3 separate regions of the Homo sapiens genome follow, and all the other regions are linked to region 1. The links are contacts of gene promoters, found by promoter capture Hi-C in human tissues and cell types (Jung and others, 2019). All regions are on one chromosome and are shown on one strand. The core of a region is centred on a gene start or on the middle of the fragment in contact, and the rest is flanking DNA. Distances in the headings are between cores, read along the strand shown. Region 1 holds the start of DDO (D-aspartate oxidase). Region 2 overlaps FIG4 (FIG4 phosphoinositide 5-phosphatase). Region 3 overlaps RPF2 (ribosome production factor 2 homolog).

The links. Contacts are between HindIII fragments. The study calls those that stand out against the background at their distance.
Region 2: a contact is called between a fragment that was not itself captured here and the fragment with the promoter of DDO in region 1, in 1 of the 25 tissues and cell types used here (H1 embryonic stem cells).
Region 3: a fragment that was not itself captured here is called in contact with the fragment with the promoter of DDO in region 1 in 1 of the 25 tissues and cell types used here (dorsolateral prefrontal cortex).

Annotation. Positions count from the first base shown.
Region 1 is chr6:110,414,109-110,416,981 of GRCh38, forward strand. It overlaps DDO (D-aspartate oxidase), which reads right to left and starts at 1,467. Exons shown (of 5, transcript NM_001372108.2): 1 at 1,359-1,467. LOC105377936 (a long non-coding RNA gene) reads left to right here and starts at 1,536. Exons shown (of 2, transcript XR_942856.2): 1 at 1,536-1,679. The HindIII fragment of the contact is 14,658 bases long and covers 1-2,873 here.
Region 2 is chr6:109,703,121-109,705,993 of GRCh38, forward strand. All of the region lies in intron 1 of FIG4 (FIG4 phosphoinositide 5-phosphatase), which reads left to right. Among named protein-coding and RNA genes, the nearest start is that of FIG4, 13 kb to the left of the region's middle. The HindIII fragment of the contact is 4,656 bases long and covers 1-2,873 here.
Region 3 is chr6:110,986,659-110,989,531 of GRCh38, forward strand. It overlaps RPF2 (ribosome production factor 2 homolog), which reads left to right. Exons shown (of 10, transcript NM_032194.3): 3 at 2,370-2,407. Among named protein-coding and RNA genes, the nearest start is that of RPF2, 6.1 kb to the left of the region's middle. The HindIII fragment of the contact is 4,760 bases long and covers 1-2,873 here.

The DNA of each region.
Region 1 (2,873 bases), core at 217-2,716:
AACCTAGGGAAGGTTGACAGAAAACCACAGAGCTGTAGTCTTTGCTCCCAGAACTACCTGAGGAGCAGTGGTGAGGGGCATGACCCATGAGCAACTCAAAACTCAACTCTGTCTACAAAGTTGTTTCTAATAATAAGGACATTACAGAAAGTTTCAGCAGCTGAACTCAGTCTCCTCTGCCATCTGCCACTGTCACCGGCCCCCTGTCTGTCCTGGACAGGTTCTGTAACCTGAGGAGCAGTCCGTGGTCTCCTAGCCTCCACTCCCTCATCTGTAACACAGAACAGATGGATTACTTGCTCCTTTGGGTGGTAAATAAGAGAGACCCAGTGAGGCGGTCTCATAAAGGGGGCTCCTTGGGAGAGTCTGAATGGAAATGCAGGGGACAGACATCCCGGAGCCCGGGCCAGGTGTCCTGAGGCTGGCACCCTCTGTCCCACCCCTCACCCACGGAGCCTTGCTCCACTGTCAGCATCCCCGCCTGCCTTTGCTTCCCTGTTTTTGGCTTTCCCCATCTGTTCCTGCTCTGACTCTTTCTGTATGGCTCAGGTTTAAACTCCAGAGAGAGAAAATGCAGTTGTACCAGTTGGTCATTGCATCCCCTGTTGGACAAAATTCTAGCACCAGGCCAACTTGCTGGGCTAAACCAGCCTCTGAATGTGCCCTTGGCATAGTTGCCCTTCTCTGTCCAAAGCACAGTAATCAGGGTACTGGGCCACATGGTACAAACCATGGCCACCCACACACAGAGGTTCACCTTTCCTCTGGAAGGCTGGGCAGCTTCCTCAGCAAGGGCTGTTGGCAGGAAAAACGTGGGCTTGGTTGTTAGTGGCCTCTGCTTTCTCTTCCAGTTCTGAAGATTCTCGCACTATGAGACTTTAAAGCCCTCCAATGAAGTTTAGTGTGATATTCCTATTCCTCGAGCAGTCTATGCATTTCTGTGCTAATTTGATACGTTAATTTGATTGCTGTACAGTGGGCTGGTCAGCTGAGAGAGAGTGGGCCTGCCAGGGCTGAGGGAAGAGAAGGGAACGGGCCCAGGCCAGAGCAGTCTGGTGGGGGCCAGCTTGAGTAGAGCTGTCCTGCAGCCACCAGTGACCTTATTGACTTCGCTGTTTCACATCAGCCTCCCATGTCCAGCAACTCTCTCAAAACAGCTCTAATAAACTAAGTTGAAAGGGCAAGCAATCTGTGGCTAAGAATAACCAGCTGCCAGGGAGGAGGAGTGAGCGAGCAATGTGGTGTGTCCTGGCACAGTGGCCTGTCCATCACTGTCCCCTGACCCTATTCAGACACACTCCCAAACTCCCAGAGCATGGACGGAACGACCCCTCAGCTGAAAGCAAGAATTCAAGTACCTGTCTCTGAAAAAGCAGTCTTGGAAGCCACCAAAATCTCTGGCACCAAACCTTGTTTCCCAGTGCCTGGCTGGTCTCATGCCCTGAGAGACAGAGAGAAAGCGAAACTGATTCCCATTGGTGACTTGATTCAGGACATTCCCCCTGGTCTTCCTTTCCATTGGCCTGCATGGCTGTCTCTGTCACCCATTGCCCCGGAGAAAGGAGCAAGTGACCTCAACCTGTCATCTCCATGGCGCTGTCTCTGCCAAGCCCTTCCCTTTCTGGCCCACGAGCCCTCTGTCTGGCCGCCAGCCTGGGCTTTCTCCAGCTGATTTGTAGGTATGGTGAATAATGGGTGAGCCTGTCCAACTTCCAACCTCGTTTGGCTGCCCACAGTTAGCCGGGTGCCTGGCTCTGCTGGGTCAGCTGGTGGGGGAAGCAGGAAGGAGGGGGTGAGGGCTGAGTAATGTTGTTGATTGATTGGAGCTGGAAACACTATTCAGGAGATAATCTAGGATAGAACCACATGATTCTTTAGCCCAGCAGTCCCCAGCCTTTTAGGCACCAGGGGCTGGTTTCATGGAAGACAATTTTTCCACAGACTGGGGATGGGGAGATGGTTTCAGGATGATTCAAGTGTGTTACATTTACTGTGCACTTTATTTTTATTATTATTCGTTGTAATATATAATGAAATAATTATACAACTCAACATAATGTAGAATTAGTGGGAGCCCTGAGCTTGTTTTCCTGCAATTAGATGGTTTTCTCTGAAAGTAATGGGAGGCAGTGACAGATCATCAGGCATTAGATTCTCATAAAGAGCACACAAACTGGATCCCTTGTGTGCGCAGTTTACAGTAGGTTTGTGCTCCTATAAGAATCTAGTGCCTCAGCTGATCTGACAAGAGGCAGAGCTCAGGCAGTAATGCAAATGATAGGGAGTGGGTATAAATGAAGACAAAGCTTTGCTTGCTCACCCACGGCTCACCTCCTGCTGTGAGGCCAGTTCCTAACAGGCCACGGACTGGTAGTGGTCTGTGGCCTGGGGATTTGGGATCCCTGATTTAGCCCACATATTCAAAGAAGGGATTCAATATTTGATGAGTGTCTACTGAGCTCTAGGCATGAGGCACAGTTAACAAGTTTGTTTCCAGGGAGGCAGTGTGATGTGTCAAATTAGTGACAATAATATTTTCAATAATGTATATGTAGCATTAACCATGTGCTAGACACATGTATGACATCATATATCACAACCACCCTATGAAGTAGGTACTATTATCACTATCCCCATTTTGTATATGAGTACATTGAGGCTCCAAGACAGTAAGGAAGGGTCCAGGGTCTCTTAAATGGTAAAATCCAGTCTGGATATCTGACGTCAAGGCTCAAGCTCTTTTTTTTTTTTTTTTTTTTTTTTGAGATGGAGTCTCGCTCTGTCACCCAGGCGGGAGTGCAGTGGCTCTATCTCAGCTAACTGCAAGCTCTGCTTCCTGGTTTCATGCCATTCTCCTGCCTCAGCTTCTCTAG
Region 2 (2,873 bases), core at 113-2,612, 710 kb before region 1:
TATCTAAAAATGTCCTATGCCACCCTCAGGTTTGATTGATAAAATAAATACTGAATTAAGGATTGGAATGAATTTTCCTTTAGAGTTTTGAAGGCCTTATGTCATTCTCTTCCACCTTCCAGCATTGTTGCTGAGAGCTTCTAATGTTACTCTGTTCTTGATCTTTAGTTTGAAGCTTGTTTTTTTTTCTTTTCAGAAGCTGTGCTAACTTCTTTTTGTGCTCTCTTCTTTTTATCTTCTTCTGACACTACAGAGGTATCAGGGGCTTCAAATTCCCAAGCCTTTTGGAGGTTCTATTGTGTAAATTGGATTGCTTCTTGACTTTACCATTGCCAGTTTAGGAGTCAGCTTTGTTACACATGCTTTTCAGTTTCAAATGGTTTTTATTTTTCTCCTTTATCTTCTTTGTTCCTCCTTTTGCTCTTGGGGCTTGAGCCTAAAAACAAACATAAAAAACTTTACTATGGTTTTAGTAAGATGTTTGGGAGGACCAGAGGTGTCCACTCCTCCATCTTTATCCAGGATTCTACCTGTTTTGCACCTCAGACATCTCTGTTGTGGATCTTGCCCCCTCTCTGTCCCTGAGACTGCCCACAGAAGGGCCACTCACAAGCGCCTGTCATCAGATGCTCTGTCCTTATCGACTTGACTTCTCAGCAGCATCTGATGTGACTGCTTTCTCCTTTCCCAGATGATCTTTCTTTGCTTTGACGAGTCCACCTCGTGCTGGGGTTTTCTCATTCACCAGCCATTCCTCCCAATCTTCTCAGCTGGTTCCTTCTCCGTATCCAGCCTCTAAATAATGGAGTTCCTCAGGCTAGCTTTTTTGGGCTCTCGTCACTCTCCCTACTCTCTCTAGTAGGTTTAACCCAGTCCCATGGCTTTAAATGCTGCATACATGCTGATGGCACCCACTGAGCTCTTTTACCCACTGAGTTCTCACTTGGCCTCTCTGGGCATGTTGTGAACAGAACTCTTGGTTTCCCTTCAAACCTGTTTCTTCTCCAGTCATCTCGACATCAGTAAGTGGCACCATCATCTAGCTATCTGCTTAAAGGTAATTGGATCTATTACTCTCCTTCCTGATCCCATCTACCAGTAAGTTATATATCCAAAATATATCTTCAGTTTATCTTTTTCCTCAGGCATCGAGCCTAGTGCCTGACACATATGAGGCATTTACTAGTCAGTGGTCCAATGAGTGACATCAATAGAAACACCAAGAAAATGTATGTAAAAAAATGTGGGCTTGGGGCCAGGCATGGTGGCTCATGCCTGTAATCCCAGCACTTTGGGAGGCCAAGGCAGGTGGATCATTTGAGGTCAGGAGTTCAAGACCAGCCAGGCCAACATGGCGAAACCCTGTCTCTACTAAAAATACAACAACAACAAAAAAAATTAGCCACGTGTCATGGTGCACGTCTGTAATCCCAGCTACTTGGGAGGCTGAGGGAGGAGAATTGCTTGAACCTGGGAAGCCAGGACGCAGAGGTTCTGGTGAGCCAAGATTACACCACTGCACTCCAGCCTGGGTGACAGAGTGAGACTCCATCTCAAAAAAAAAAAAAAAAAAAAAAAGTAGGCTCTTTAAAAATGGGGAAGTCATGAAAAACAAAGCCTGATGAACTATTCTAGATTAAAAGATTTAAAAAGATGTAACATAACTTTACATAAAGATAGGTAGTACATGATCCTTGATTAGATTCTGGCTTTATCAAATCCAGCTATAGAGGGTATTATAGGGAGATGGGGGGAAAATTGGAATATAAATTGTACATATATATTGTATTGATGATATTATGATTATGTGTTACGATACCTGCAACTCATTTCCAGAGGTTCAGAGGAAGAAAGCATCTATCAGGAGTGGGGGAGGGAGAAAACAAATGCAACAAAATGTTAACAGTTGGTGAGTCTAGATGAAGGGTATATGGGTGTTCGTTGTACTGTTCTGTTGTCTTTGAAGATTTTTTTAAATTAAAAATTGGGAAAAAAATCAACAGTGGAGAAAAATTTAGTGGAGGGAAACTTTAGGGAAATTTTTAATCCCCAAAATGCTGAGGTCCATTTTGAAGCATACTATTAAATGTAACAAAGGCTGAGGATATACAGTGTTGATATATTCAATAGGAAGGAAATAAGAACGAGTAGAAACAAGGCCTTTCTGGAAGTTACCTCTTAAAAAATTGGTGTGAAAGTGGATGGTCAGCTGCCCACCAGAGGGCAGTGCAGGCAGTGATTCCGCGGTCTACAGTAGGCCAGCTGAAAAGCAGGGGTTTTCTTTCCCTCATAACTGGCTCCACATGAGGTCGCTATTCTCTGCACAAAACGTTTTTAGGATTCTTAGACTGTTTGAGAAGAGAGAGAATGCGGGTAGGTATAGTGCTTCCCATTTCTTTCCCTCCACTCTGATCTATTTCCAGATTCTGTGGGTTTTAGCCTTTGGCTCCTCTGATTCATGGATTCTTTGGAAGGATCTAGATATTGGAAGTACAGATCTGCCTTCCTAAGTATGTGTTTCGAAGTCCAATAATGCATTTGCCCATGAGCATGTCAGGATTTATATCTGTTTTTAAAATCACAAACTGCCAAAGTATCATCCCATTGCAATTAATCTTTAGGTTTCGTAGGATTTATTAAAATTCTGTACAACAAACCCCTGTGACATGAGTTTACCTATGTAGCAAACCTTCACATATACCCCCAAACCTAAAATAGAAGTTAAAATTAAAAAATAAAATTCTAGGGAATTTCATTTAGGGATTTTACCTCTTTTAAACCTAGGATGTTCCTCCTTACTGAGTGGTTGACTTAAAAGAGCCATTTTTCTATGTGCTTACCCAGAAAAGCTGGGTTAGTGTAAATGTCTTAGA
Region 3 (2,873 bases), core at 374-2,873, 570 kb after region 1:
AAGGCATAGTATGGGCCAGGCACAGTGGCTCACACCTGTAATCCCAGCACTTTGGGAGGCCGAGGTGGGCGGATCACGGGGTCAGGAGTTCGAGACCAGCCTGGCTAACACGGTGAAATCCTGTCTCTACTAAAAATGCAAAAATTAGCCAGCCATGGTGGTGGGCGCCTGTAATCCCAGCTACTAGGGAGGCTGAGGCCGGAAAATCTGCTTGGACCTGGGAGATGGAGGTTGGAGTGAGCTGAGACCACGCCATTGCACTTACTCCAGCCTGGGTAACAGAGCAAGACTCCAACTAAAAAAAAAAAAAAGACATAGTATGTGGAGATATCTAGTAGGTTATTTGACTAATTAGGCCTTGAGTACAGCCAATAGATCTTTGAATTAAATCAATTAAGTAATCGAATACATTTTTGTTGTTGTTATTGAGGTGGAGTCTCACGCTGTTGCCCAGGCTGAAGTGCAGTGGTGCCATCTTGGCTTACTGCAACCTCTGACTCCCGGGTTCAGGCGATTCTCCTGCCTCTAGCCTCCCAAGTAGCTGGGAGCCACCACACCCAGCTAATTTCTGTGTTCTTTTAGTAGAGACAGGGTTTCACCATGTTGGCCAGGCTGGTCACAAACTCCTGACCTGACATGATCTGTCCGCCTCGGCCTCCCAAAGTGCTGAGATTACAGGAGTGAGCCACCATGCCTGGCTTTGAATATATTTTAAACTTGACCAAACTCTATGCCTGATAAGCATAGTCAATTCAGATGTCTGAATGCCTTATATAGGCCCATCCCTTTTTTGAAATGTTTGTCTGAATTTCATTGTGCTAACGGGAAACTGCCCCTCTCCTTCTAGTATCCATCAGCACAATGACCCTGCATATTTAAGTAAGCTTTAAAAGCAGCACAATATTACAGATTACTACAATAATTAAAATTCATCATGATGACTCTGAGTCATCAAGAAGAGGTGGCAATGTTTATTACACGGAAACAGGGAAATAGTTGGCCAAGAATCATCAAAAGTTTTAGTACTTAAAAAGGTAGATTTTACTGTTGCATTTTCTTTGTTCACCAACTCTGATAGTTGATGAATGATTATTATACCTTATTTTTCATTGTTTCCCTCATTTACCCATTTCTCTAATGCAAGGTAGTACCTGATGACATCTTTGTTATTCTCTATGGTAGAGCAGTACTGGCCATACAAGTAATAAATGATTATAGGCCAGGTGTGGTGGCTCACACCTGTAATCCCAGCACTTTGGGAGGCTGAGGTGGGAGGATCACTTAAGCCTAGGATGACAGCCTGGACAACAAAGTGAGACCCCATCTCTATAAATTAAATTTAAAAAAATAATAAAATACAGCCTGGACAACATGGTGAAACCCCATCTCCACTCAAAATACAAAAATTAGCTGGGCGTGGTGCATGTGTCTGTACTTGGGAGGCTGAGATGGGAGGATCACCTGAGCCCTGGAGTTTCAGGCTGCAGTAAGCTTTAATCACGCCATTGCACTCCAGCCTGGGCAACAGAGTGAGACCCTGTCTCAAAAATAAATAAATAAAATAAAATGAATGATTATTTGTGGATAGGTAGAACTAGGAAAAAAATGAAGAACATTGAATAATAGGCATTTTTTAAAGAGCTGTGTTTAACCTCTGGCTAGTATTCTAATTGTCATCATTATTACTGTTTCTAAGTTTTCTGATCTCCACGCAACATTATTTCAATCTGTCAGCCTTTCGTGATAGAATTTATTTTTTCTGTTTTTGTCTACTACTTTTTTTTTTTTTTTTTCTGAGACAGGGTCTCACTCTATCACCAGAGCTGGAGTGCAGTGGTGCAATCACGGTTCACCACAGCCTCGAATTCCTGAGCTCGGGTGATCCTCCCGCCTTAGCCTCCCAAGTAGCTGGGACTGCAGGCATGCACCACTATGCCTGGCTAATTTTTGCAGTTTTTTGTAGAGACAGGGTTTTGCCATGTTGCCCAGGCTGGTCTCGAACTCCTGGGCTTGAGTGATCTGCCTTGTCCTCCCAAAGTGTTGGGATTACAGGCGTGAGCCACTGCACCTGGAATTGTTTCCCTAGAGAGAGACTGGACTAAGTCGAGTTTAAAGAAATGAAGGAAATTGTTTAAGTTGGATAGACTATTGACAGGGCATAGAAACTTTTAAATAGGAAAGTCTAGTCCAAGAATATTAAGCTTACATTTCAAGTTACTGTAAGTGATGAAAAGGGAGCCAGGCAGAAGCCCTCAGAATAAGATTGAGGCCCCAGAGCAATCTTGGAGAGTGACTGTTATGATGCTTTATTTTTATTTCTGCTTTTCAGAATGTGTTTTGTTTTGAAAGCTATAAATTTTGTTTTACAGTATGCACTGAAAAAACCATACGGTGTACTATATAAAAAGTAAGTCATGATTTCTTTTACTGTATTTTAAATGATTTTGTTTCATTATAAAAGTAACCACTTTATGGAAGATTTGGAAAACAAAAACTTTTTAAAAAGATATTAAAATTCCTTACAGTTATTAATATTTTAATTTCTTTCTTTTGGTCTGTTTTTTTCATTTGTATTGAATGTCCTTGCATAGTTGTAACCATAGCATATATATTTTATTTTGAAATACAGATTTACAGAAAAGTGCAAAAATAATGCAGAATTCCCATATACCCTTCACCTGGCTTCCCCTAATGTTACATCTTGCATAACCGTAATGCAATGATCAAAACTAATAAATTAACACCGATTCACTCATGTTAATCAAATGACAGACATATTTGATTAGCACCAGTTTTTCTTTTTTCCTTCTTTTGAGACGGAGTCCTGTTGTCGCCCGGCTGGAGTGCAGTGGCATGATCTCTGCTCACTACAA